Regions from separate parts of the Homo sapiens genome. Here regions 2, 3, 4 and 5 are each linked to region 1. The links are contacts of gene promoters, found by promoter capture Hi-C in human tissues and cell types (Jung and others, 2019). All regions are on one chromosome and are shown on one strand. The core of a region is centred on a gene start or on the middle of the fragment in contact, and the rest is flanking DNA. Distances in the headings are between cores, read along the strand shown. Region 1 holds the start of ZNF440 (zinc finger protein 440). Region 2 has its middle 8.4 kb from the start of ACP5. Region 3 has its middle 38 kb from the start of ZNF627. Region 4 has its middle 57 kb from the start of ZNF627. Region 5 overlaps ZNF763 (zinc finger protein 763).

Region 1 (5,519 bases), core at 1,011-3,510:
AAAGAAAGAAGAAAAGAAAAGAAAAATCATGTAAATGAAACCAAATTCAGTGATGTTACCTTAACTTTTTTTCTTTTTTCGGGTAGAGACAGGGTCCCACTATGTTGCCCAGGCTGGTCTCAAACTCCTGGCCTCAAGCGATCCTCCTACCTTGGCCTTCCAAAATGCTGGTATTACTGGTGTGAGCCACCACACCTGTCCTACCTTTATTTCTAATAACTGATATGCCTTACATTAAAAAGTCTTTTAGAAAACACCTTTGAGCCATTTTCCAGATAGGGGAAGTCAATGAAGCTCCCTCTTGTGGTGAGGGCGACTTTAACATCCACACATCCTGTCTGGGGGACTGGATTTCTGAGTTGTGCTGAGACTTAAGAGTGGAAAAAAAGTCTACTCTTTTTCCTCTGCTCTCACACAACACGGAATACTTCTGTGACCAAATGCAAATATTTGAGAAGTGTCCCCCACATGCCAAGCAAAGCATCAATTCTGCAACTGACTCCAGCTCGATGTCTTCTAGTTCCAACACTTTCTACCTTTACATAAGGTACAAAACTGCCTCAGAAATCATCTGACCATGTGTCCCGGTTTGCCAGTGATAATCCTTGATAGTACCTGTTGTCCCAACATAGTTTTTCATAGCACCTCATCTTGCCATGGTTATCTGTGTCTGAACAATGAATATGTATGAATACTTTCACACATAAGCAAAATTAGGTTTATTAAATGAAGTTTCCAGGAATGTTCAAATTTCAACACCTGATTTACCTTATCACAAGTTATGGCTGTGCTAATTTCTCCAGGAAATATTCACAGAATATTGAATTTATCATTGTAAGGTGTGGAGCAATGAAGATGCCCAAGAGGCCAGGCGCACACCTGTAATCCCAACACTTTGGGAGGCTGAGGCTGGAGGATCACTTAAGCTCAGGAGTTTGAGATCAACCTGAACAACCGAATGAGACCTCATCTCTACCAAAAATAAAAAACTAGCCAGGCATGGTGGCAGGCACTTGTAGTCCCACCTACTTAGGAGGCTGAGGTGGGAGGATTGCTTGAGTCTGGGAGGTTGAGGCTGCATTGAGTAGCCATCGCACCACTGCACTCCAGCTTGGGCGACAGAGTGAGACCCCGTCTCAAAAAAAGATGGCTAAAACATAATTTTTTTTTTTTTGAGATGGAGTCTCACTGTGTCTCAGGCTGGAATGCAGTGGCACGATCTTGGCTCACTGCAAACTCTGCCTCCCGGTTCAAGCAATTCTCCTGCCTCAGCCTTTCAAGTAGCTGGGATTACAGGCATGCGCCACCATTCCTGGCTAATTTTTGTATTTTTAGTAGAGATAGGATTTCACCATGTTGGCCAGGCTGGTCTTGAACTCCTGACCTCGTGATCCACCTGCCTCAGCCTCTCAAAGTGCTGGGATTACAGGCATGAGCCACCGCGCCCGGCCTGCCTAAATCATAATTTCTATGACAGAATTTCTCATTTACAGCTTCCCCTGAGACCATCTTTCATTTCAGTTAACCCTGCTCCTTGGGGGTTATATGTGAGATAAAAGTGCCATGCTATATCATGTTCCCTGGCTCAGTCCTACACAGCATGTCCTGAAAAATGGGTCTTCAGTCACTGTCAATGCACCAGGGATAGATATACATAGTACTGAGAGCCTCTAAATCTTTAATAAGTTCTGGCTTGGTTAGCTCCCTTACAAGGAAAACCTTGCTGGAGTCCATAGCAGTGTGAGGAAGCCTTGGCCATGCCTCATCCCATTTCCCGCACGCTGGAAGACATCTGCCTCTCTCTCCTGGTGCAGTCGTGCCTTGCCTGGTCTGGGCTCCCCTCCTGCTCTGAGGCAAGCGTATCTCTCCATTGAACACTGAGTCTGAAATGCCCTGCACACACTTGTGATCCCGTGCAGAAGGAAGGAGCAGGGACAGCCCCTTGAATGAGGAAGCTAACAGTGCCTCTTCTAACAATAAGGAGCAAGTCGCCTTGAAATGCAAATATCTGATGACCAGGGCTCAAGGAAGGCGCTCGCTTAGAGAGGCTGTTCGCTTAGAGAGGCTGCTCGCTTAGAGAGGCTGCTCGCTCAGAGACGCTGTGGCCAGAACAAGTCAGACATGATCTGCAGGACCCGGTTACCCAGGGCTTCTGCTGTCACTCAGCACGGAGGAGGCGGGGCCTGGCGCCCCATCCAATCAGGGGTGCTGGGGCGGGGCCCTGTCAACTGTCCATCCGGGGAAGGGGGAAGGGACAGTCGCCCTCCGTCCATTCCTTTAGTGCTGCGCCGACAGCGGTCAGGATCTCGGCTTTCTTGCTTCGAGAGGGACTAGGTGCCTCCACCAGAGCTTCTGTCGCTCTGTAACCTGCACTGTGACCTACACTAGTCGCGGGAGCCACGCAGAGGACGCCGGAACACCCTGGAAGCCGAGAAATGGTGTGTGTGAGGGGGCTGGCGTCCGGGCGACTGGGAGAGGGGCTGGAATCGGCCGGAACCGGCTGAGGCGGGACCCGGGCCTCCACGCGGCGACTCCGGGGTCGTGGACGCGAGTCCCCTCGGTCGCAGGGTGGGGCTGGGCCGGCAGCCGGGACCCCGGGCCTCCTGTCCCGTCCCTTCACGGCGACTGCGGCCCCGGCTCCGGAGCCTAATCTGGGCAGCTCCGCGTCTCCCCACATTATGCGGGGGCCACGGGAGGGATATGGGGGGATCCCGCCTCGGATATGGGGTTTGTTAGAAACAAGTGCCCGGTGCCGCAAAGAAAACCAGCATCTAGGCAGAAAATTCCTCAGCAAAGCAAATTTATTTCTACACAAGGGTGCAGCTTGCGCCAGTCACAAGAGCACAGCGAGCGGGGTAGGGCAGGGGTTTTTCTCCTTAACGCAGTTTCTAGCACTTCTGTGTCCTTTCCTCATTGGCTAGGGTTGGACCTCACAATCTAAACTAACTCGATAGGCTAAGGTTTAAAATTAAATAGGGTCTGGCCAGGCGCGGTGGGTCACGCCTGTAACCCCAGCACTTTGGGAGGCCGAGGCAGGCGGATCGCGAGGTCAGGAGATCGAGACCATCCCTGGCTAACACGGTGAAACCCCGTCTCCACTAAAAATACAAAAAAATTAACTGGGTATGGTGGCGGGCGCCTGTAGTTCCAGCTACTCGGGAGGCTGAGGCAGGAGAATGGCGTGAACCCGGGAGGTGGAGCTTGCAGTGAGCCGAGATCGCACCACTGTACTCCAGCCTGGGCAACAGAGCGAGACAACTGGGCAACTCCGTCACACACACACACACACACACACACACACACACACACACACAAATTAAATAGGGTCTATGAGACGGGAAGGAACAGGGACTGTCCGTTACTAGGCGGGAAGGCGTATCTGGACTTGTCTGGGCGCGGCAAAAGCGGGAAGGTTGTTTACAGAACAGGTAGCTAGGAGACAAGGAAGTCGGTCTCAAGAAACAAAGAACAGCTTACTAAAGCTTTTAGAAAAGTAATTTATCATCTCTGACAGGTTCGTGTGGGAGGAGTAGCGGTCTTTGGGGTCCCCAGTGCCCACTTTTTTCTGTTAAAAATTAAACTGAGGTACGTTAACAATTAAAGAGTTTAGGGCCGGGCGCGGTGGCTCACGCCTGTAATCCCAGCACTTTGGGAGGCCGAGGCGGGCGGATCAGGAAGTCAGGAGTTCAAGACCAGCCTGGCCAACATGGTGAAACCCCATCTCTACTAAAAATACAAAAATTAGCTGGGCATGGTGGCGCGTGCCTGTAATCCCAGCTACTTGAGAGGCTGAGGCAGAAGAATTGCTTGAACCCAGGAGGCGGCGGTTGCAGTCAGCCAAGACGGCGTCACTCCAGCCTGGCAACAGAGCCAGACTCCATCTCAAAACAACAACAACGATTCACGAATGAGAAACACCCAGTCCTGGCTTGTGGTTTGTCAACGGAAAAAGCCAAGCTATGTAAAATAAAGAAGTTTATTAGGAGCCGAATAGGAGAGCCGTTGGCCGAGGGAAACACAACCCCAAGCAGCCTGGAGTAAGTGGTCCCGAGGCAGCTCAAGACAGTTTGGTTTTATTCATTTCAGAGAGACAGGAATTGCAGGGAAAATCATGAATCAGTGCCTGGAAGGTGTAAGTTCCATTGGCAGAAAGGGTGGGACCTGTGGAAGGGGGGTTAGAAGGCACAGGTAGTTGAGGGATTCTGTAGGTGGCAGCTGGTTGAGAGTGTTGAATCTTTGTCTAAAGTTTGGAGGAGGTAGGAAGGAATGCTGAAGGAAGGGGGTCTGTTATCTGCCACTTCATTCCATCCCAGCCAAAAAACAGACCTGTTTCTCGAGATTTTATGAATTCTAAGGCGTAACTTTACCTTTGCCTTGCGTGGCCTTAGGTCTTGTTTGTAATTTGGTATCTTGTTGCCACAAGGAGTCTGTTTTTCCAGTCAGATAATGTCTGTTTTTACATGAATGTGCGTCAGTTGCTGCATGTAAACTCCTAAAGGGAGAGGGTATAAGGAGACCTGTCTCACCTCCCATCCTGTCATACAGAGGCACTCAATTTTCAGGGTTTTTTGGGGGTTCCCTTGGCCAAGAGCCAGTCACTTCACTTAGCTGGGAAGGTACTTTGTTTTTGTTTTTGTTTGAGACAGAGTCTCCTGTAGCCCAGGGTGGTGTGCAGTGGCTCTATCTTGGCTCACTGCAACCTCCACCTTCCGGGTTCAAGCGATTCTCCTGCCTCAGCTTCCCGAGTGGCTGGGATTACAGGCATGTGCCACCACACCCGGCTAATTTTTGTATTTTTAGTAGAGATGGGGTTTCACCATGTTGGCCAGGCTGTTCCTGAACTCCTGACCTCAAGTGATCCACTGGCCTCGGCCTCCCAAAATGCTGGGATTACATGTGTGAGCCACCTCACCAGGCCAGAAGGTATGTTTTTATTTTTAGTTTACAGGTTGAAGGCTGGACTTTTATAAGGTACATGAGGAGACAAACCAGATAAATGCTTGATTGGTTGCAGAGATGCAGTCACCTTATTTGGACTTGTCAACCCGAAATAATCGAAAGTTTCAGATTTCAACTGGAAGAGTTTATTCAAGCAAAAAGATAGCAATGGCCCATTTGGGAAAAACACAGACTCCAGAGAAATGGACTCAGTACTCCAAAATTGGAAGTTAAGTTCTTGCTTATATTACTGGGAAAAGAGGTCCTGATCAGATCCCAAGAGAGTTCTTGGATCTCATACAGGAAGGAATTCAAGACGAGTCGGAAAGTACAGTGCAAAGAGAGTTTATTGAAAGCTACTCTGGGCCAGCATGATGGCTTAGGCCTGTAATCTAAGCACTTTGGGAGGCCGAGGTGGGAGGATCACTTGAGGTCAGGAGTTTGAGACCAGCCTGGGCAATATAGTGAAACCCCATCTCTTCCAAAAATAACAAAAATTAGCCGGGTGTGGTGGCCTGCACCTGTAGTCCCAGGTACTCGGGAGGCTGGATGGGACAATCACTTGAACCCGGGAGGCAGAG
Region 2 (5,519 bases), core at 1,645-4,144, 240 kb before region 1:
GGCATCTTTCCAAAAATGGCTGAACCTGGTGTGGTGGCTATGCCTGTAATCCCAGCATTTTGGGAGGCCAAAGTGAGAGGATCACTTGAGGACAGGAGTTCAAGACCAGTTTGGGCAACCTAGGGAGACTCCATCTCTCTTTTTTTTTTTTTTTTTTTGAGATGGAGTCTTGCTCTGTCGCCCAGGCTGGAGTGCCGTGGCGCGATCTTGGCTCACTGCGAGCTCCACCTCCCAGGTTCACACCATTCTCCTGCCTCTCAGCCTCCCGAGTAGCTGGGACCACAGGCGCCCGCCACCACGCCCGGCTAATTTTTTTGTGCGTGTGTTTTTAGTAGAGATGGTTTCACCGTGTTAGCCAGGATGGTCTCGATCTCCTGACCTCGTGATCTGCCCTCCTCGGCCTCCCAAACCGCTGGGATTACAGGCATGAGCCACCGCGCCCGGCATTTTTTTTTTTTTTTTTGGAGACAGAGTCTCAGTCCATTGCCCAGGCTGGAGTGCAGTGGTGTGATCTCGACTCACTGCAACCTCCACCTCCCGGGTTCAAGCAGTTCTCCCACCTTAGCCTCCCAAGTATCTAGGGTTATAGGTGCACACCACCGTGTCTGGCTAATTTTTGTATTTTTTGGTAGAGGAGGGATTTCACCATGTTGACCAGGCTAGTCTCAAACTCCTGACTTCAGGTGATCTGCCCGCCTTGGCCTCCCAAAGTGCTGGGATTACAGGCGTGATGTACCATGCCCGAACACCATTTCTTAAAATAAATAAATTAGGCCGGGTGCGGTGGTTCATGGCTATAATCCCAGCACTTCAGGAAGCCGAGATGGACAGATTGCTTGAGCCCAGGAGTTCAAGACCAGCCTGGACAAAGTGGTGAAACCCCCTCTCTACAAAAAATACAAAAATTGGCTGGGTGCAGTGGCTCACGCCTGTAACCCCAGCACTTTGAGAGGCCGAGGTGGGTGGATCACGAGGTCAGGAGATCGAGACCATCCTGGTCAACATGGTGAAACCCCGTCTCTACTAAAAATACAAAATTAGCTGGGCATGGTGGCGCACTTACCTGTAGTCCCAGCTACTCGGGAGGCTGAGGCAGGAGAATCAATTGAACCTGGGAGGTGGAGGTTGCAGTGAGCCAAGATCAGGCCACTACACTCCAGCCTGGCGACAGAGCAAGACTCTGTCTCACGGTGAAACCCCGTCTCTACTAAAAAAAAAAAAAAAAAAAAAATTAGCCGGGCGTGGTGGCGGGCGCCTGTAGTCCCAGCTACTCGGAGAGGCTGAGGCAGGAGAATGGCGTGAACCCGGGAGGCGGAGCTTGCAGTGAGCCGAGGCTGCGCCACTGTACTCCAGCCTGGGTGACAGAGCGAGACTCCGTCTCAAAAAAAAAAAAAAAAAAAAAAAAAAAAAAAATTAGCCAGGTGTGGTGGTGTGTGCTTGTAGTCCCAGCTGTTCAGGAGGCTTAGGTGGGAGGGAGGATTGCTTGAGCCCCGGAGACGGAAGTTGCAGTGAGCTGTGATCACACTACTGTACTCCAGCCTGACAGCCTGGGCAACAGAGTGAGACCCTGTCTAAAAAACAGAAAAGTAAAGAAAAAAATAAAATAATTAATTAAGATGGCTGAGTGCTGGCTGGTGTTGTCTCCTCAGCAAGACAGAAGCTCCCTGAGGGCCAGCGCCCACCCTGATTTATTCCTCCTAGTGTCCTTGGGTCCCCAGCTGCCTGGCACAGAGCTTTGGTCCTTGGTGCTCGGTAGAAGTGTCTGGCTGATGTAGAGGAGGGAGCCTGAGTTACAATCCCCCCTCCCCTGCCACTCAGTCTTCGTGTGACATTGGATGTGTCACTTCTTCTTTCTGTGCTCTGGGCCATGAGAACGGGGTCCTTGGGCTATGATGGTGACCTCTGATTCAGACTCCTGCCTGTCTGGTGCCTCTGAGTCAGTGAGAAGAGCGCGGCTGTGACCTCCCTAGACTGTTGTGGTTAAGATTGAGGGACTGCCACTTCCTAGAAATTACCTTGGTCACAGTGGTTAAGCCGTCCAATCTAAGATAAATATTGTACCAAAAAAAATTAAAAAATAAAAACCCACAAAAACACGTCTGAGCTTCTGTAATAGCCTCTGAGAAGCAAGGATGATTCTGGCCCCTGCCTCATGGGCCAGGATCAGAAGTGACGGTAAATGGCAGCTGGAACAAACTCAGGATTACATTTTGGGGATTTGTTTGTTTGCTTGAGACAGAGTCTTGCTCTGTTGCCCAGGCTGGAGTGCAGTGGTACGACCTCGGCCCACTGCAACCTCCACCTCCTGGGTTCAAGTGATTCTCCTGTCTCAGCCTCCTGAGTAGCTGGAATTACAGGCGCCCGCCACAATGCCAGCTAATTTTTGTATTTTTAATGGAGACAGCGTTTTGCCATGTTGATCAGGCTGGTCTCGAACTCCTGATCTCAAGTGATCTGCCCGCCTCAGCCTCCCAAAGTGTTGGGATTACAGGTGTGAGCCACCACCCCTGGCCAGGATTGCATTTTGGAAAGATCACTGCTTAATTATAACAGTTGGCCAGACATGATGGCTCACACCTGTAATCCTGCATTTTGGGAGGCTAAGGAGGAAGAATCACTTGAGGTCAGGAGTTTGAGACCAGCCTAGGCAACATAGCAAGACCCCATCTCTACAAAACACACACACACAAAATTAACCAAGAGTGGTGGGGTGAAGCTGTGGTCCCAGCCACTCAGGAGGCAGAGGCAGGAGGATCCCTTGAGCTCAGGAGGTGGAAACTGCAGTGAGCTATGATTACACCATTGCACTCCAGCCTGGGCAACAGAGTGAGACACTGTTTCAAAAAAAACCAAAAAATTGTAACAGTAACACATACACCTTGTAACAAATTCAACAGTATTGACATCTATAAAGTAGCAAATTATACCAAGATACACACACACACACACACACACACACACACACACACGCGCGCGCGCAAAGTAACAAATAAGCCGGAGCAGTAGCTCATGCCTGTAATCTCAGCACTTTGGGAGGCCTAGGCGGGTGGATCACCTGAGGTCGGGAATTCAAGATCAGCCTGACCAACATGGAGAAACCCTGTCTCTACTAAAAAATACAAAATTAACCAGGCGTGGTGGCGCATGCCTGTAATCCCAGCTACTCAGGAGGCTGAGGCAGGAGAATCGCTTGAATCTGGGAGGCAGAGGTTGCTGTGAGCTGAGATCACGTCACTGCACTCCAGCCTGGACAGCAAGAGGGAAACTTCTTCTCAAAAAAAAAAAAATAAGTAAAATAACAAATGAAAGGTGACAATTTCACCAAGTGCCTCTCCCCAGAAGTAACCTCAGTTACTTTTTTTTTTTTTTGAGATAGTCTCCCAAACTGGAGTGCAGTGGCGTGATCACAGCTCACTGCAGCCTCCACTTCCCAGACAAGAACGATTCTCATGCCTCAGCCTCCCAAATAGCTGGGATTATAGGCATGCATCACCAGGCCTGACTCATTCTTTTGTATTTTTTAGTAGAGGTGGGTTTTTGCCATATTGGCCAGGCTGGTCTTGAACTCCTGTCCTCAAGTGATCTGCCTGCCCCTACCTACCAAAGTGCTGGGATTACAGGCATGAGCCACTGCACTCAGCCCTGTTTACATTTTGTCCAGATTCATTTCACTCCGCTAGGCAGGCAGCTGGAGCCAAACAACTGGGTCCCTGCCGTGTAGCAGTTGCAAGTGGCGGTTGAGGGTGGGCCAAAGGAGGGGTTCCTGTGCCTTGCCTAGCGCTAATGGCCTGGGTTGCCTGGGGGTGGGTGTTACTTAACTCTCCCTCAGAGGGGAACTGGGCTCCCCTGCAACTGTCACATCAGGTCTAGCACTCTGCTTTCAGTATAAGAAAAACAGGCCCTGAGATTTTTTTTTTTTTTTTTTTCCCCTGAAACGGAGTCTCATTCTGTTTCCCAGGCTGGATTGCAGTGGTGTGATCTCGGCTCACTGCAACCTCTGCCTCCTGGGTTCAAGCGATTCTCCTGCATCAGCCTCAGTAGCTGGGATTACAGGCACGTGCCACCATACCCAGCTAATTTTTTGTATTTTTAGTAGGGATGGGGTTTCACCATGTTGGCCAGGCTGGTCTCCAACTCCTGACCTCAAGTGATCTGCCTGCCTCAGCCTCTCAAAGTGCTGGGATTACAGGTGTGAGCCACTGTGCCCAGCCCTGAGATAATTCTCCTTCTAGAAGTTTTCTTACACATTACTTTCACAGCATTGGTCCAGGGACCACCACTGCAGCCTTGTTGGTAAGAGGGAAACAATTATTTATTTATTTATGTATTTTGAGAAAGAGTCTCGCTCTGTTGCTCAGTCTGGAGTGCAGTGGCGTCATATCGGCTCACTGCAACCTCCGCCTCCCGGGTTCAAGCAATTCTCTGCCTCAGCCTCCCAAGTAGCTGGGACTACAAGCACACGCCACCATGCCCAGCTAATTTTTGTATTTTTAGTAGAGACGGGGTTTCACTATATTGGTCAGGCTGGTCTCAAACTCCTGACCTCAGGTGATCCACCTGCCTCGGCCTCTGAAAGTGTTGGGATTACAGGTGTGAGCCACCATGCCTGGCCTAGAAGGAAAGATTTAAAAAGACCACGGCTGGGTGCGGTGGCTCACGCCTGTAATCCCAGCACTTTGAGAGGCCGAGGTGGGTGGATCATGAGGTCAGGAGTTCAAGACCAGCTTGGCAAAGATGGCGAAACCCCATCTCTACTAGAAATACAAAAATTAGCTGGGCATGGTGGCGTGTGCTTGTAGTCCCAGCTACTTGGGAGGCTGAGGCAGAGAATTGCTTGAACCCGGGAGGCGGAGGTTGCAGTGAGCCAAGATCGTGCCACTGCACTCCAGCCTGGCTGATGGAGTGAGACTCCATCTCAAAAAAAAAACCTCAATGAGGCTGAGCACTTTGGCACTTTGGCTCACGCCTGCAATCCCAGCACTTTGGGAGGTTGAGGCAGGAGGATCACCTGACCCTGTGAATTTGAGGCTGCAGTGAGCTATGATCCTGCCATTGCACTCTAGTCTGAGTGACAGAGCAAGATTCTGTCTCTCAAAACAACCCCCAAAACCAATAAAATCCTGCAAGGGGCACTAGCAAGGAGCCAGTGACATAAGGCAGAAGCTTCGTGGCTGTCAAAAAGAAGTGCGATCTTTTTCCTTGTTCCTGGGAATCCTGCAAACATGTCTGCCCCATAGGTAATGCGTAGACAAGGTCATTTGTTATGACATTGAGGATTGCAAAATTGTTCGAAGTGTTACAGGAAAGGGGTCTCGATCCAGACCCCAAGAGAGCATTCTTGGATCTTATGCAAGAAACAATTCAGGACTGGGCACAGTGGCTCATGCCTGTAATCCCAGCACTTTGGGAGGCCAAGGCAGGTGAATCACCTGAGGTCAGGAGTTCAAGACCAGCCTGACCAACATGGTGAAATGCCGTCTCTACTAAAAATACAAAATTAGCCAGGCATGGTGGTGGGG
Region 3 (5,519 bases), core at 1,686-4,185, 180 kb before region 1:
GAACTGGGTAACAGGCAGAGGTTGGAACAGTTTGGAAAGCTCAGAAGACAGAAGATGTGGGAAAGTTTGGAACCTCCTACAGATGTGTTGAATGGCTTTGACAAAAATACTGATAGTGATATGAACAAGAAGATCCAGGCTGAGGTGGTCTCAGATGGAGATGAGGAACTTGTTGGGAACTGGAGCAAAGGTGACTCTTATTATGTTTTAGCAGAGACTGGTGGCATTTTGCCCCTGCCCTAGAGATTTGTGGAACTTTGAACTTGAGAGAGATGATTTAGGGTATCTGGAGGAAGAAATTTCTAAGCAGAAAAGCATTCAAGAGGTGACTAGGTGACCTGGGTGCTGTTAAAAGCGTTCGTTTTAAAAGGGAAACAGAACATAAAACTCTGGAAAGTTTGCAGCCTGATGATGCGGTAGAAAAGAAAAACCCATTTTTAAAGGAGAAATTCAAGCTGGCTGCAGAAATTTGCCTAAGTAGCAAGGAGCCAAATGTTAATCCCCAAGACCATGGGGAAAATGTCTCCAGGCCACATCAGACACGTTTACACAGCCCTTCCCATCACAGGCCCGGAGGCCCAGGAGGAAAAAGTGGTTTCACGGGCCAGGCCCAGGGTCCCCGTGCTGTGTGCAATGTAGGGACTTGGTGCCCTGTGTCCCAGCCACTCCAGCCGTGACTGAAAGGGGCGAACGTACAGCTTGGGCTGTGGCTTCAAAGGGTTGAAGCCCCAAGCCTTGGCAGCTTCCGCATGGTGTTGAGCCTGCAGGTACAAAGAAGTCATGAACTGAGGTTTGGGAACCTCCACCTAGATTTCAGAAGATGTATGGAAACACTTGGATGTCCAGGCAAAAGTTTACTGCAGAGGTGGGGTGCTCATGGAGAACCTCTGCTAGGGCAGTGCAGAAGGGAAATGTGGGGTCAGAGCCCCCCCTACAGAGTCTTTACTGGGGGCACTGCCTAGTGGAGCTGTGAGAAGAGGGCTACCATCCTCCAGACCCCAGAATGGTCGATCCACTGACAGCTTGCACTGTGCACCTGGAAAAGCTGCAGACACTCAACACCAGCCCGTGAAAGCAGCTGGGAGGGAGGCTGTACCTGCAAAGCCACAGGGGCAGAGCTGCCCAAGACCATGGGAACCCACCTCTTGCATCAGTGTGACCTGGATGTGAGACCTGGAGTCAAAGGAGATCATTTTGGAGCTTTAAAATTTGAGTGCCCTGCTGGATTTCAGACTTGCATGGGCCCTGTAACTCCTTTGTTTTGGCCAATTTCTCCCCTTTGGAATGGCTGTATTTACCCAATACCTGTACCCCCATTGTATCTAGGAAGCAACTAGCTTGCCTTTGATTTTACAGGCTCATAGGCGGGAGGGACTTGCCTTGTCTCAGATGAGACTTTGGACTGTGGACTTTGGGATTAATGCTGAAATGTGTTAAGACTTTGGGGTACTGTTGGGAAAGCATGATTGATTTTGAAATGTGAGGACATGAGATTTGGAGGGGTCAGGGGTAGAATGATATGGTTTGGCTGTGTCCACACCCAGATCTCAGCTTGAATTATATCTCCCAGAATTCCCACATGTTGTGGGAGGAATCCAGAGGTAGTAATTGAATCATGGGGGATGGTCTTTCCCCTGCTGTTCTCATAGTAGTGAGATGGGTTTATCAGGGATTTCTGCTTTTCCTTTTTCCTCATTTTCTCTTGCCGCTGCCATGTAAGAAGTGTCTTTTGCCTCCCGCCATGATTCTGAGGCCTCCCCAGCCATGTGAAACTGTAAGTCCAATTAAATATCTTTTTCTTTTTTTCTTTTCTTTTCTTTTCTTTCTTTTTTTTTTTTTTTGAGATGCAGTCTTGCTCTGTCACCCAGGCTGGAGTGCAGTGGCATGATGTCAGCTCACTGCAACCTCCGCCTCCCGGGTTCAAGCAATTCTTCTGCCTCAGCCTCCTGAGTAGCTGGGACTATAGGCTTGCACCACCATGCCTGGCTAATTTTTGTATTTTTAGTAGAGACGGGGTTTCACCATCTTGGCCAGGCTGGTCTCGAACTCCTGACCTCATGATCTGCCCACCTCAGCCTCCCAAAGCGTTGGGATTACAGACGTGAGCCACCGTGCCCGACCAACATCTTTTTCTTCCCAGCCTCAGGTATGTCTTTATCAGCAGTGTGAAAACGGACTAATACATGGTTATTACACATTGTATGCCTGTATTAAAATATCTCTTGTACCCAATAAATATATACACCTACTATGTACCCCCCCACACACAAAAGATAGCGTTCTTTGTGTTTTTAAATAGGTTTTGCCTTAAAGTCTAGTCAAGTATGATAATGGCATATCCACTCTTGTTCTCTTTTGGTTACTATTTGCGTGGAATACCTTTTTACCTCTGTATTAGGCTTTTCTTGCTTTGCCATAAAAATACCTGAGGCTGGATAATTGATAAAGAAATGTTTTATCAACTCATGTTTCTGCAAGCTTTATAGGAAGCATGGTGCTGGCATCTGCTCAGGTTCTGGGGAGGCCTCAGAGTTTTTACTTTTGGTGGAGGGTGAAGCCGGAGCAGGCCTCTCACGTGGCAAAATAGGAACGAGAGAGAGAGGTAGAGGGGAGGTGCCACACACTTTCAAACCACCAGACCTTGTGCGAACTCAGAAGAAGAGCTCACCTATCACTAAGGGGATGGCCCAAGCCATTCATTAGAGATCTGTCCCCATGATCCAAACACCTCCCACCAGGCCCTGCTTCCAACCTTGGGGATTGCAATTCAATGTGAGATTTTGCGGGGATGTACATTTAAAGTATATCATCTTCCATTCCATTTCGAGTATTTTTTGTCTTGGGGTATAAAATGAGTGTCTTGGTCATGCATTATGGCTCATGCCTGTAATCCCAGCATTTTTATTTTTTTAAGACGGAGTCTCGGCCGGGCGTGGTGGCTCAAGCCTGTAATCCCAGCACTTTGGGAGGCCGAGGCGGGCGGATCATGAGGTCAGAAGTTCAAGGCCGGCCTGACCAACATAGTGAAACCCTGTCTCTACTAAAAATACAAAAAATTAGCCGGGTGTGGTGGTGTGCACCTGTAATCCCAGCTACTCAGGAGGCTGAGGCAGGAGAATCGTGTGAACCCGGGATGCAGAAGTTGCAGTGAGCCGAGATTGTGACATTGCACTCCAGCCTGGGCGACAGTGGGAGACACTGTCTCAAAAAAAAAAAAAAAAAAAGATGGAGTCTCACTCTCGCCAGGCTGGAGTGCAGTGGCGTGATCTTGGCTCACAGCAACATCCGCCTCCCAGGTTCAAGTGATTCTCCTGCCTCAGCCTCCTGAGTAGCTGGGATTACAGGCTCGCGCCACCACACCCAGCTAATTTTTGTATTTTTAGTAGAGATAGGGTTTCACCATGTTGGTCAAGATGGCCTCGATCTCTTGACCTCGTGATCCACACGCCTCAGCCTCCCAAAGTGCTGGGATTACAGGCGTGAGCCACCGTGCCCGGCCATTCCTAGCATTTCTGGAGACTGAGGTGGGAAGACTGCTGGAGGCCAAGACTTCAAGTTCAGCGTGGGCAACATGGTGAGATCTTGTGTTGAGAAGAAATTTTTTAAAATTTACACAATTAATGACATTTTAATGTCATTCTATCAATCAATATTAGGTAAGTATTAGGTGTGACTGATATTCTGGATATGTATAAAATTAACTCAATATTTGAGATATGAAAGCTGCCAGGGCCAGGCGTGGTGGCTCACACCTGCAATCCCAGCACTTTGGGAGGCTGAGGCAGGCGGATCACCTGAGGTTAGGAGTTTGAGACCAGCCTGGCCAACATGGTGAAATCCCATCTCTACTAAAGATACAAAAAATTAGCCCAGCATGGTAGCATGCACCTGTAATCCCAGCTACTGGGGAGGCTGAGGCAGGAGAATCGCTTGAACCCAGGAGGTGGAGGTTGCAGTGAGCTGATATCGTGCCACTGCACTCCAGCCTGGGCAACAGAGTGAGACTCTGTCTCAAAAAAAAGAAAAGAAAACTGCCTTTTATTTTTAATTTTTTGTATTTTTATTTTTGAGACAGAATCTCACTCTGTCACCCAGGCTGGAATGCAGTGGCTCAATCACTCATCACTGCAACCCCAACTGATTCTGGGCTCAAGTGATTCTCCTGCCTCAACCACCCTAGTAGCTGGGACTATAGGCACATGCCACTACGCCTGGCTATTATTTAACTTAATTTTTTTTGGGGGGGGATGGAGTCTTGCTCTGTCACCTAGGCTGGAGTGCAGAGGCGTGAACTTGGCTCACTGCAACCTCTGCCTCCTGGGTTCAAGCAATTCTCCTGCCTCAGCCTCCCAAGTAGCTGGAATAACAGGTGGCCACCACCATGCCTGGCTAATTTTTGTTTTGTATTTTTAGTAGAGATGGAGTTTCACCATGTTGGCCAGACTGGTCTCAAACTCCTGACTTCAGGTATCCACCCACCTCAACCGCCCAAAGTGCTGGGATTACAGGCATGTGTCACCGCACCTGGCCCCGCCAATGTTTTTAACTTAAATTTTCATACTCATGCACGTAACTCCACATTCTCCTCTATTCACAGGCCCTGATAATCTCTATTCTACTTTATCCCTTTATGAATTTGACTATTCTAGGCACCTCATATAAGTGAAAGTATACAATATTTATTCTGGTGTCTCTGGCTTATTTCACTTAGCATAATGTTTTCAAGTTGCATGCATGTGTTAACGTGTCAGTAATTCATTGCTTTTTTGTGCCTGAAAATATTCTATTGTAGGGATAAATCACCCTTTGCTCATCCATTTGTTTGTTGATAAACATGTGGGTTTTTTCCACAGTAATATTCTGAATAAGGCTGCTATGAAATTGGTGTACATGTGTCTCTGTGTGTTGTGCTTTTGATTTTTTAGGATATATACCTAGGAGTTGAATAGTCACAGGGGAATTCTAAATTCACCTTTTTAAGGAACAGCCATACTGTTTTACACAGTGGCTGCAATGTTTTACATTCTCTACATCAGTGCACAAGGATTCCCGTTTCTCCATGTCCTCATCCACACTTATTATAATTTTTTTTTTTTTTTTTGAGACGGAGTCTCACTCTGTCGCCCAGGCTGGAGTGCAGTGGCACAATCACAGCTCACTGCAGCCTTGACTTCCCTGGCTCAAGTGATCCTCCCACTTGAGGATCACTGGGACCATAGGTGCTAAGATGGGACTACCGGTCTGACCCCTGCTTTCCATCGTGGCCTGAACTAGATTTCTAGATTTTCAGGTTTACTTTGGGATGCCCTTAGCCGAGAGGGGAATCCTTCAGTTTGGGAGAGAGGGGTGGGCTTTGAATTTTATTTTTGGTTTACACATAGAATAGCTGGAGTCGGAGTGTGATTTGATATATGTAGAAAATCTGTTAAGGTCAAGACCCATTGGATTACCTTATGGAGAAAAGGTTTATGAATTTGACAATTTATGTCAGTCAGTACCTTAAACTGACTCCAGGTGAG
Region 4 (5,519 bases), core at 1-2,500, 160 kb before region 1:
ACCTTCAGCTGCCTCCACTCCTTCCAAACACATGAAAAGCCTCACACAGGAGAGAAACCCTATGATTGTAAGGAATGGGAAAAAACCTTCGATTCTCCCCAAACCGTTCGAAGATACAGGGTAGTGCACAGTGGAGATGGACCTTATAAATGTAAGTTTTGTGGGAAAGCCTTTGATAATCTCAGTTTATATCTCACACATGAAAGATCTCATACTGGACAGAAGCCATATGAATGTAATGAATGTGGGAAAGCCTTTGGTTTTCCCAGCTCCTTTCATAGACATGAAAGAATGCACACCGGGGAGAAACCATATGAATGTAAGCAATGTGGGAAAACCTTTAGTTGTTCCAGTTCCATTAAAAAACATGAAAGAATCCACACTGGAGAGAAGCCCTATGAATGCAAGCAATGTGGGAAAGCCTTCGCTTCTTCCAATTCCTTTCAGTATCATGAAAGGACTCACACTGGAGAGAAACCCTATGAATGTAAGCAATGTGGGAAAGCCTTTAATTGTTCCAGTTCCCTTAGAAAACATGCAAGAATTCACACTGGAGAGAAACCCTATATATGTAAACAATGTGGTAAAGCTTTTAGATTTCCCAGTTCTATTAAAAATCATGAAAAGACTCACACTGGAGAGAAGCCCTATGAATGTCAGGAATGTGGGAAAGCCTTCAGATATTCCAGTTCACTTCGAGTACATAAAAGAATTCACACTGGAGAGAAGCCGTATGAATGTGAGGACTGTGGGAAAGCCTTCAGTCATCCCACGACCTTTCATAGACATAAAATTACCCACACTGCAGAGAAACCTTATGAATGTCAGGAATGTGGGGAAGCCTTCCGTTATCCTGTTGCTTTTCGTAGACATAAAATTACCCACACTGCAGAGAAACTTTGAGTGTAAGGAATGTGGGAAAGCCTTCTGTTATCACAGTTCCCTTCAAAGACATGAAAGGACTCACAACGGAGAAAAGTTGTGTGGATATAAAAAATGTAAAGCCGGCTGGGTGCGGTGGCTGACGCCTGTAATCCCAGCACTTTGGGAGGCCAAGGCGGGCGGATCATGAGGTCAAGAGATTGAGACCATCATGGCCAACATGGTAAAACCCCATCTCTACTAAAAATACAAAAATTAGCTGGGCGTGGTGGCATGTGCCTGTAGTACCAGCTACTTGGGAGGCTGAGGCAGGAGAATTGCTTGAACCTGGGAGGTGGAGGTTGCAGTGAACCGAGATTGTGCCACTGTACTCCAGCCAGGTGACAGAGTGAGACTCCGTCTCAAAAAAAAAAAAAAAAAAAGTAAAGCCTTCCACTATTCCAGTACCTTCTGAAACCATGAAAGAACTGACACTTGAGAAAAACAATGATGTTAGGAACATGGGAAACCTTTCCTTTCTCTCTCAATCGTTTGAAGGCATATGGTGTGACATGCTGGCGATAGACCTCATAACTGTAAGGAACATGGAAAACGATTCTTGTTTTCCATGCTCCTTGTTTATTTTAGATACATGAAAGAATTTACTCTGGAGAGAAACTATGAGTGTAAAAAATGTGGTAACGCCTTGTGTAGTTTCTGTTTCTCTGAAATACTGTCATGTCCTGGTATTCTCAGGGGATTAGTTGCAGGCACCCCGCTCCCCACTTCAGAACATCTAAATCTGAAGATGCTCAAGTGCTTTATATAAAATGGTGTATTTTCCTAGAACCTAAGCACATCCTCTTGTACACTTTAAATCATCTCTAGGTTATCCATACTGCCTAATGCATTGTAAACGATATAAAAATAGTTGTTTCATTGTGTTATTTAGGGAATGCTGACAAGAAAAAACATCTGTAGATGTTTAATACAGATAACCATCACATGCCCACCTCCATAGTACAGGCCCACCTCATAGTATATGTCAGCTACAATGAAACATTTTCTTTTTTTTTTAAAAAACGTTTTGGATTGGTTTCATTTAATGGCCTCAAAAACACGTGTTAACATTCTCCAAATCCTTGGTTCTTCTCTCCTGATAACCCTCATGTGATGATTGCTCTGTGGTTCCTAAAGCTGCAGTGTGTTGAGGTGCTTAGATATGTGGCAGTGTAGATAAGTCAGGGGACATCAGTTTAACTTGAATTTTCTTTTTTTTTTTTTTTGAGATGGAGTCTTGCTCTGTCACCCAGGCTGGAGTGCAATGGTGTGATCTCGGCTCACTGCAACCTCCACCTCCTGGGCTCAAGTGATTCTCCTGCCTCAGCCTCCCAACCAGCTGGGATTACAGGTGCCCGCCACCACACCCGGCTAATTTTTGTATTTTTAGAAGAGATGGGGTTTCACCATGTTGGCCAGGCTGGTCTTGAACTCCTGACGTCGTGATCTGCCCACCTTGACCTCCCAAAGTGCTGGGACTACAGGAATGAGCCACCCTGCCCGGCCAGAATTTTCTTTCAGGACATCAGGAGGATCCTCTGCTGGAAGAACCAACATCTGATTGCAGATGTTGCCTCTTTGGTGGAAGGTCAGTAACACAAATCTTGGATCTGTGGTGTTTGAGGGCTGAAAATATTTAAGCATCGAACTTTCAGTCCTTTTTTTTTTTCTTTTTTTTTGAGATGGAGTCTCTGTCGCCCAGGCTGGAGTGCAGTGGCACGATCTCAGCTCACTGCAACCTCTGCCTCCCAGGTTCAAGCGATTCTCCTGCCTCAGCCTCCCAAATAGCTGGGATTACAGGCGCACACCACCATCCCCAGCTAAATTTTGTATTTGTAGCAGAGACAGGGTTTCATCATGTTGGCCAGGCTGGTCTTGAACTCCTGATCTCTGATGATCTGCCCACCTTGGCCTCCCAAAGTGCTGGGATTATAGGCGTGAGCCACCGCACCCTGCTGAAGTTTCAGTCTTCATAATTGCAGATGCTTTAGTTGGAAACGTTGTCATAGGAAAAGCTGTTTTTTCTTTCTCTTTGAATCATCAAACACATCTTGCAATGGTTTTGGCCATGTTATCTCTGGTGACCTGGAAGCGACTTTGATATTAAGCTTCAGAGTATGCTGAAACAAGTCAAGACTTTTGGTGATGTTAGGATGGTAAGCATGTATTTTGCATGTGAGGTCATAAATTTAGGGAGCAGGTAGAAAATTATTGCTTTATTTGTCCCCTGAAATTCATATTATTATTATTTTTTTGAGAGAGTTTTGCTCTTGTTGCCTAGGCTGGAGCGCAATGGCACAATCTTGGCTCAATGCAACCTCCACCTCCTGGTTTCAAGCGATTCTCCTGCCTCAGCCTCCCAAGTAGCTGAGACTGTAGGCATACGCCACCGTACCCGGCTAATTTTTTGTATTTAGTAGAGACAGGGTTTCACCATGTTGGTCAGGCTGGTCTCCAACTCCTGACCTCAGGTGATCCATGCACCTCGGCCTCCCAAAGTGCCGGGATTATAGAGATGCGCCACCACGCCCAGCCCTGAAATTCATATTTTGAAACCTTACTCCCTAATGTATGGAATGAGGAGATAGGATGCCTGGGAGGTAATTAGGATTACTTGGGATCATGAGGGTAGAGTTCTCAGGAATGGGACTATAAGGTTCCCTAGAGAGCTTGCATTTGCTCTCTATTATGTGAGGACACAATGAGATGAAAGCCTTCTTTGAACAAGGAAGCTTGCCCTTACCAGGCACTGAATCTACTATCACTTTGATCTTGGAGTTCACAATCTCCTGTATACTGAGGAGCAAATGTTAGGTGTTTAATACACCCAGCTTATGTCATTTTGTTTTAGGAGCCCCTGGTGGATAAAGCACAACCCCATTAAAAAATAGGTGAAGGAGTTGAATAGACATTTCTCTAATGAGGATGTACAAATAGACAATAATTACATAAAGAAGATGTTCAGCATCACTCATGGTTTAGGGACATGCAAATCAAGAGCAAAATGACATCTATATCCCCTCACCCTCATTAGTTTGCTTCTGTCCAAGAACAAAATAACATGCTGGCAACGATGTGGAATAGTGAGGACCCTTGTACACTATTGATGGAAATGCAAAATGTCACAACTACTTTTGAAAACTATATGGCAGGCCGGGTGCGGTGGCTCATGCCTGTAATCCCAGCACTTTGGGAGCCTGAAGTGGGCAGATCACCTGAGATTGGGAGTTGAAGACCAGCCTGACCAAGATGGAGAAACCCCATCTCTACTAAAAATACAAAAAAATTAGCCGGGCATGGTGGCCCATGCTTGTAATCCCAGCTACTCAGGAGGCTGAGGCAGGAGAATCACTTGAACCCGGGAGGCGGAGGTTACAGTGAGTGGAGATCGCGCCATTGCACTCCAGCCTGGGCAACAAGAGCGAAAGTCCATCTCAAAAAAAAAAACAAAAAAACAAAAAAAAAAACAACTGTGTGGCAGGTAATCAATACATTGAAAAAATGGAAATAACATCCACCATTTTTCCCTTCTGGGAATATAAGCAAAAGAATAGAGACGGGGGCCTGAAATGGGTATTTGTATACATGGTATAGCAGTATAACTTACCAATAGGGAAAATGTGGAAGCAACTCTCTTGTATATTGACAGATGGATGAATAAGCAAAAGGTAGTATATGCATAGGATAGACTATTACTCTGCCTTCAAACGGAAGGGTGACCTGACAAATGCTACAGCATTGATGAACTTGGAGCACATTATGCTAAGTGAAATAGTCCATTCATATAAAGACACACCTTATAAGGTCGAGTCACTTGATTTTTTACAACCTGTCTCCAGACATGGGCTCCTTAAACTCCAGACCCAAAATGTTTTTGCTTATATGAGGTACTCAGAGGAGTCAAATTCATAAAGAAAGTAGAATGGTGATTGTGTGGAATAGGGGAAGTGGGTAATGGAGACTTATGATTTAATGGCATAAAGTTTCAATATTGCAAGATGAAAAGGGTTCTGGAGATAGATGGTGGTGATGGCTGCACACCAATATGAACGTACTGAAAGCCAGTAATTCTACACTTAAAAATTAAGATGGGCCGGGCACAGTGGCTCACGCTTGTAATCCCAGCACTTTGGGAGGCCGAGGTGGGTGGATCACCTGAGGTCAGGAGTTGGAGACCAGCCTGGCCAAAATGGCAAAACCCCGTCTCTACTAAAAATACAAAAATGAGCTGGGCATGGTGGTGCATGCCTGTAAGCCCAGTTACTCAGGAGGCTGAGGCAGGAGGATCTCTTGAACCCGGGAGGCTGAGGTTGCAGTGAGCTGAGATTGTGCCACTGCACTCCAGCCTGGGAGACAGAGCAAGACTCCATCTCAACAACAACAACAAAAAATTGTTAAGATGATAAATTGTATTTTTTCTGTATTTTAGTACCATTAAAATACGTGGGATTGGTCAGAGTGGTGGATAGGGAAAGGACGCAAACCTTCTGAGAGGTTGGAAGGTTCTGCAGAGCCCTGGGGGAGAATAGCTGAAGGTGGCTGTTCTATAACCCTGAGGCAGAGGGCATGGAGTAGGTACAAGGGAGTGTGGGGGAATT
Region 5 (5,519 bases), core at 972-3,471, 170 kb after region 1:
TAACATGAAAGGACTCACACTGGAGAGAAACCCTATGAGTGTAAGCAATGTGGAAAAACCTTCAGATCTACCTCACACCTTCGAAAACATGGTAGGACTCACACTGGATAGAAACCAAAGCAGGTGAATCACCTGAGGTCAGGAGTTCAAGACTGGCCTGATCAATATGATGAAACCCCTGTCTCTACTAAAACTACAAAAATTGGCCAGGCGTGGTGGCCTGCTTCTGTAATCCTAGCTAGTTGGGAGGCTGGCACAGGAGAATCGCTTGAATCTGGGGGGCAGAGGTTGCAGTGAGCCAAGATTGTGCCATTGCACTCTAGCCTGGGCAACAGGAGCAAAACTCCGTCTCAAAAAAAAAAAAAAAAAAGACTTGGCCTTGTGGTGAGGGGATGTCAGCTCTAGACTCCTGGAGCTGTTTTTGCCTTATTCTCTAAAGACTAAAATATTTCATAAAATGTATGGGTGCTGTTTACCAGAAAGTACGTTGGGTAAAACATAGAAATTCATTTATACCTTAGAAAGCTATTTTTTTCAGGTTGGTTTAGTGAGTCACAGGAAGCTAATAAATTACAATAATAATGTAAATTGTCTAAATACAGCCTTTTCTTTCTCTGATAATGTGCTGTTGATACTAACTTGTCAACAGCCTGTTTATTTCAGCCATGTAAAGTTAATGGCAACATGGAAAAGTCACTTTTATATGTTATGCAATGGCATGGAAAAATTCATTTTCATTAAGGTTCCAATGAAGCTGCTCTTCAGAAACGCTTATTTAAAACTCCCTAAGGTCAAAGTCCAGGCATCACGGGATGCAGCATCAATCACTGACCAAACCCTGTCTGTGTGTGGAGATGACATACCCAGTCCCAGATAATGTATCCACATCAGTGAAGGGTGGAATCATTGATTGTCAGATCACACAGCATGATTCACAGCAGGGAAGACAGGGCAGTGACAGAGGTGGGGGCACCTGAGCAGGTACGGTGGCTCACACCTGTAATCTTAGCACTTTGGGAGGCCAAGGAGAGTGGATCACTTGAGGTCAGGAGTTCAAGACCAGCCTGGCCAACATGGTGAAACCTTAAGAAATAGATAAATTAGCTGGGCATCGTGGTGTAATCCCTGTAATCCCAGATACTCAGGAGGCTGAGGCAGGAGAATCGCTTGAGCCTGGGAGGTGGTTGTTACACTGAACTGAGATCACACCATTGCACTCTCCAACCTAGTCGACAGAGCAAGACTCTGTCTCAAAATGAAAAAAACAAGAGTTGGGTGCACCTGAATCCAACCCCTGCCTTATCCTCCCTTGAAGGCCAAATACACCCTGACACTTTTAACCAAACAGTAGAAACAACACCATCCACTTGACCCCAAATGTGACTTTCCACAGGATGCAAGCACAATGTTGGAATGGCCAATGACAGTGACAATGAAAGTGCAGGGTGAGGGTGATGAACAGGACACACTGGAGAGCCTGACATTGGCCTAGACTATGGAGGTGTCTTGATGTTTCACAAAAAGCCCAAGGACCAACCCAAAGAGACACTGGAGCACAGGCCCAAAGGGTGTTCATATGCCAGGAAGGCTACTAATTTTAGAAGGCAGTGATGGTGCCTGTTTGAGTCCGGATGCTTTATAACTTCTGCTTTTCTGCATCTGCTTAGACAAAGAAATCTGCAGTTTTTGAGTTTCAGTGTTTAGAAGTAAGTTATTTTAGCAATCTACACACTTGTGGTTTATTCTGAGCTAACTTCAGACACACAGCTACAGATAGGGAATATCACGAGTATTTCCAAGGCTAAAAGTCTTCATGAAGTCAGTGGGACCCTCTCATGGGAGGGTTTTAAGACCCACAATCAAAAAGGTGGGGAAACATTAGAGTGGAAAGAGGGCAGCAGGTCAGGGGCCTTCCCCAGAGGTCTAACACACCCAACATTATTACCCTGGATGAAAACCAATACATATCATAACACCACACACACTCTTCAATGTTTCACAGACAAAATGAAATGTATTCAAAGCTAAGCTTCCAGAATTCCACTTTACACAATAAGGTTTTAATATCACTCTGTGTTGATGTTAGGCAATTACTAAATAGCATTTTCTGGTTATCTATGGAAAATACCTTGATTTCTGGGATATGAAAATGCTCATTTTTAGATATGCTTGTTTTTGAACTTTTTTTAATAAAATAAGGTGAGAAAACAGGAAAAAAATTTTCAGATCAAGGAACTTAGGCGAATTAATAGGAGAAAAGTCATACAAATTTATTTAACATGTATATATGGGAGCCTTCAGAATGAGGACCCACCCAACAATAAGACAAAAAAGCTTACATACCATTCTGAGGCCAGGAAAAATGCAGACTTGGCATGGCCAAAAAAATTCCAGGTTTGGTGGGGAAGTCATTTTTAATGGCAAGACAGATTATGCTAAAGGAAAGGAAGAAGCTTGGCTAGCAAAGGAGACCTTGTTATGTAGATGAAGGCTCCCTCAGAGAGAATAGGTGGGAAATGCTGCTTTTCAGACTTTTATTTAGAATTTTAAGTAATAGAGTCAGGATTATGCTGTGTTGCCCAGGCTGTTCTCTAATTCTTTGTCTCAAGCAGTCCTCACAGCTCAGTCTCCCAAAGTGCTAGGATTCCAGGCATGAGTCACCATGTCCAGACAGGGTTTGTCCCCTTGTAAAGAATTATTCATTGCTGGGCACAGTGATTCACAGTGACGTCTGCCTGGCATCTGCCTGTAAAGGAAGCATGGCACCAGCATCTGCTCAGCTTCTGGTGAAGGCCTCAGGAAGCTTTCAATCATAGCGGAAGGTGAACGGGGAGCAGGCAGTCACATGGCGAAAGCAGGAGTGAGACAGAGAGAGTGGTGTAGGAAGGTGCAGCTCACTAGAACTCACTGATTATCACAAAGACAGCAACAAGCCATGAGAGAAACAAGCCATAGGTCCCCCTGACCCAAACAACTCCCATCAGGACTCACCTCCAACACTGGGGATTGCAGTTCCTCATGACATTGGGTGGGAACATACATTCAAACTATCACGTGACAATATTACTTCCCTCAGTTTATTAAAGAACAAGTGTTTCTAGCTCTTCAGTGCTGTTCAGTGATTTGGAATATGGACAGGGAAAACTTTGATAAATCAGGAATGGCTGCAGTGAGCCATGAACATAGAATCTAATAATTTTTAAACTAATTTTATAATAGCTGGGCATGGTGGCTCATGCCTGTGGTTCTAGCACTTTGAGAGGCCAAGGTGGGTGGATGACTTGAACCCAGGAGTCTGAGAACAGCCTGGGCAACATGGTGAAACCCTATCTCTACAAACTTTTTAGCCAGGATGGTGACATGCACCTGTAATCCCAGCTACTTGAGAGGCTGCAGTAGGAGAATCACCTGAACCCAAGAGGTTGAGGCTGCAGTGAGCTGTGATCATGCCATTGCACTCCAGCCTGGGTGATAGAGTGAGACCCTCATCTCCAAAAAAAACCCCATAATTTTATAATCAGGACTATTTTTTATGGATCTGTATTTTAAGAAAAAAATGGAAAGACCAGATCATTGAAGATCAGTACAAAAATCTCAGGAATAATCTAAGGTAAGTTTCCCTCACAAGATAAAGCATTCTCTCTCTAGAAAATCTTATACTGCCTGAAAATGTTTTGGTTTTTTTGGAGACAAGAGTTTCACTCTTGTTGCCCAGACTGGAGTGCAATGGCTCAATCGCGGCTCATCGCAACCTCCGCCTCCCAGGTTCAAGTGATTCTCCTGCCTCAGCCTCCCAAGTAGCTGGGATTACAGGCGCCCACCACCACGTCTGGCTAATTTTGAATTTTTAGTAGAGATGGGGTTACTCCATGTTGGTCGGGCTGGTCTCGAACTCCTGTCCTCAGGTGATCCGCCTGGCTTGGCCTCCCAAAGTGCTGCAATTACAGGCGTGAGCCATTGTGCCCGGCTGAAAATGTTTAAAATATGCAAATAAAAGAAATAAGACCAGCATCACATTTATTTACTCTTAGAAAATTTTCTCTAAAAACATAATATTTAAATGTGACATAGGCTAGGCACAGTGGCTCACACCTCTACTCCCAGCCCTTTGGGAGACCAAAGCCAGATGATTGCTTGAGGCTAGGAGTGAGACCAGCCAAGGCAACATGGTGATACATCACCTCATTAACAAAAAATGTTAGCTGCGCATGGTGGCACTTGCCTGTAGTTCCTGCTATTTGGGAGGCTGAGGCAGGAGGATGGCTTGAGCCCAGGAATTCCAAGCTACCATGAACCATGCTCAATTAGACCCCTGCCTTATCACAAGGACAGAGGGCTTTCTGTATCCTAAGGTTCTTGCCTTGGTATACTGGAAGAATTGTATCACACGTGGGCTTGGAGAATGAGTGCAAGTTTTTTCTTTTTTTTTCTGAGAAAGGGTCTCACTCTTGTCGCCTAGGCTGGAGTGCAGTGGCCTGATCTCGGCTCACTGCAACCTCCACCTCCCAGGTTCAGGTGATTCTCCTGCCTCAGCCTCCTGAGTAGCTGGGATTACAGGCACCTGCCACCATGCCCAGCTAATTTTTGTACTTTTAGTAGAGATGGGGTTTTGTCATGTTGGCCAGGATGGTCTGCAACTCCTGACCTCAGGTTATCCCCCCATCTACGCCTCCCAAAATGCTGGGATTACAGATGTGAGCCACTGCGCCCGGCCGAAAATGCGAACTTTCTCCTTTGGGTACTACCATTTTGGTGGGCATCAGATCCATGCCCGAGCTCTGTGGGCGCTGCTGCCTCTCTCCACCTCAGGCACCACATCCCAGGAGCCCCAATCCCACTGCCTGGCTTGTGCTTTAGAACAGCTGCTGCTGCAGGGCCCTCAGCTGCCACTACCAAGTTGCGATTTAGAAGTCTTTTAATGCATTTAAATATCTTAGAATTTGTCTTCCCCACTTTATACACACAATCATGAGGAGAGCAGGGACTCTATTGGTGTCTTATTCACACAGTGGGATTGAGGGTGTTTGTCTCATGAAACTGATCAATGAAGTGAGAAACAGCTGAATAACCTACAGGGGGCAGCAGAGCCTGAGGCCAGTGTGGGCCTGCAAAGGAAGGGAAAGGGAGTTCCTTGGGGGCTTCCGGGGCTCCCCGCCTTCCCCTGCAGGTGGCCTCCAGCTGCCCAGAACAGCTGCAGAGAGTGTGGATTCTGAGAAGCTGCAGGGCCCTGGAAAGCAGGAGACCCACGTGCAGGTGCGCTTAGGGGGTTCCATCCTTTCTGAGGTTGCCCTTCTGGAGCCTGGGGCCATTTTCTGGGAAGTGTTTTGGTTTTGACATGTATAGGGTCGCTGGGGTCAGAATGTAATTGTTACATATGAAGAAAATCTGTGAAGGTCAGCCTCAGTGAGACTTGTTGGGTTTGTCTTATAACAGGGTTTATGAAATTGACAGTTTATTTAGGTCAGAGCTTAAATTATCACCAGGTGAGAGTTTCCTGCTGAGGAAAATGAAGATCTGGA

Evidence for each region. Contacts are between HindIII fragments. The study calls those that stand out against the background at their distance.
Region 2: a contact is called between a fragment that was not itself captured here and the fragment with the promoter of ZNF440 in region 1, in 1 of the 25 tissues and cell types used here (liver).
Region 3: a fragment that was not itself captured here is called in contact with the fragment with the promoter of ZNF440 in region 1 in 1 of the 25 tissues and cell types used here (H1 embryonic stem cells).
Region 4: a fragment that was not itself captured here is called in contact with the fragment with the promoter of ZNF440 in region 1 in 1 of the 25 tissues and cell types used here (H1 embryonic stem cells).
Region 5: a contact is called between a fragment that was not itself captured here and the fragment with the promoter of ZNF440 in region 1, in 1 of the 25 tissues and cell types used here (dorsolateral prefrontal cortex).

Annotation. Positions count from the first base shown.
Region 1 is chr19:11,812,013-11,817,531 of GRCh38, forward strand. It overlaps ZNF440 (zinc finger protein 440), which reads left to right and starts at 2,261. Exons shown (of 4, transcript NM_152357.3): 1 at 2,261-2,438. The coding sequence starts at 2,436. RefSeq lists silencers at 252-361, 2,096-2,175, 2,596-2,665. The HindIII fragment of the contact is 18,958 bases long and covers 1-5,519 here.
Region 2 is chr19:11,566,495-11,572,013 of GRCh38, forward strand. No RefSeq gene overlaps it. Among named protein-coding and RNA genes, the nearest start is that of ACP5, 8.4 kb to the right of the region's middle. RefSeq lists a silencer at 1,379-1,428 and an enhancer at 1,839-1,928. The HindIII fragment of the contact is 7,606 bases long and covers 1-5,519 here.
Region 3 is chr19:11,632,835-11,638,353 of GRCh38, forward strand. No RefSeq gene overlaps it. Among named protein-coding and RNA genes, the nearest start is that of ZNF627, 38 kb to the left of the region's middle. The HindIII fragment of the contact is 6,249 bases long and covers 1-5,519 here.
Region 4 is chr19:11,651,903-11,657,421 of GRCh38, forward strand. It overlaps the pseudogene ZNF887P. Among named protein-coding and RNA genes, the nearest start is that of ZNF627, 57 kb to the left of the region's middle. The HindIII fragment of the contact is 4,182 bases long and covers 1-3,341 here.
Region 5 is chr19:11,980,030-11,985,548 of GRCh38, forward strand. It overlaps ZNF763 (zinc finger protein 763), which reads left to right. Exons shown (of 4, transcript NM_001367172.2): 4 at 1-588. It also overlaps a transcript of ZNF69 not described here. Among named protein-coding and RNA genes, the nearest start is that of ZNF433-AS1, 4.8 kb to the right of the region's middle. The HindIII fragment of the contact is 4,224 bases long and covers 110-4,333 here.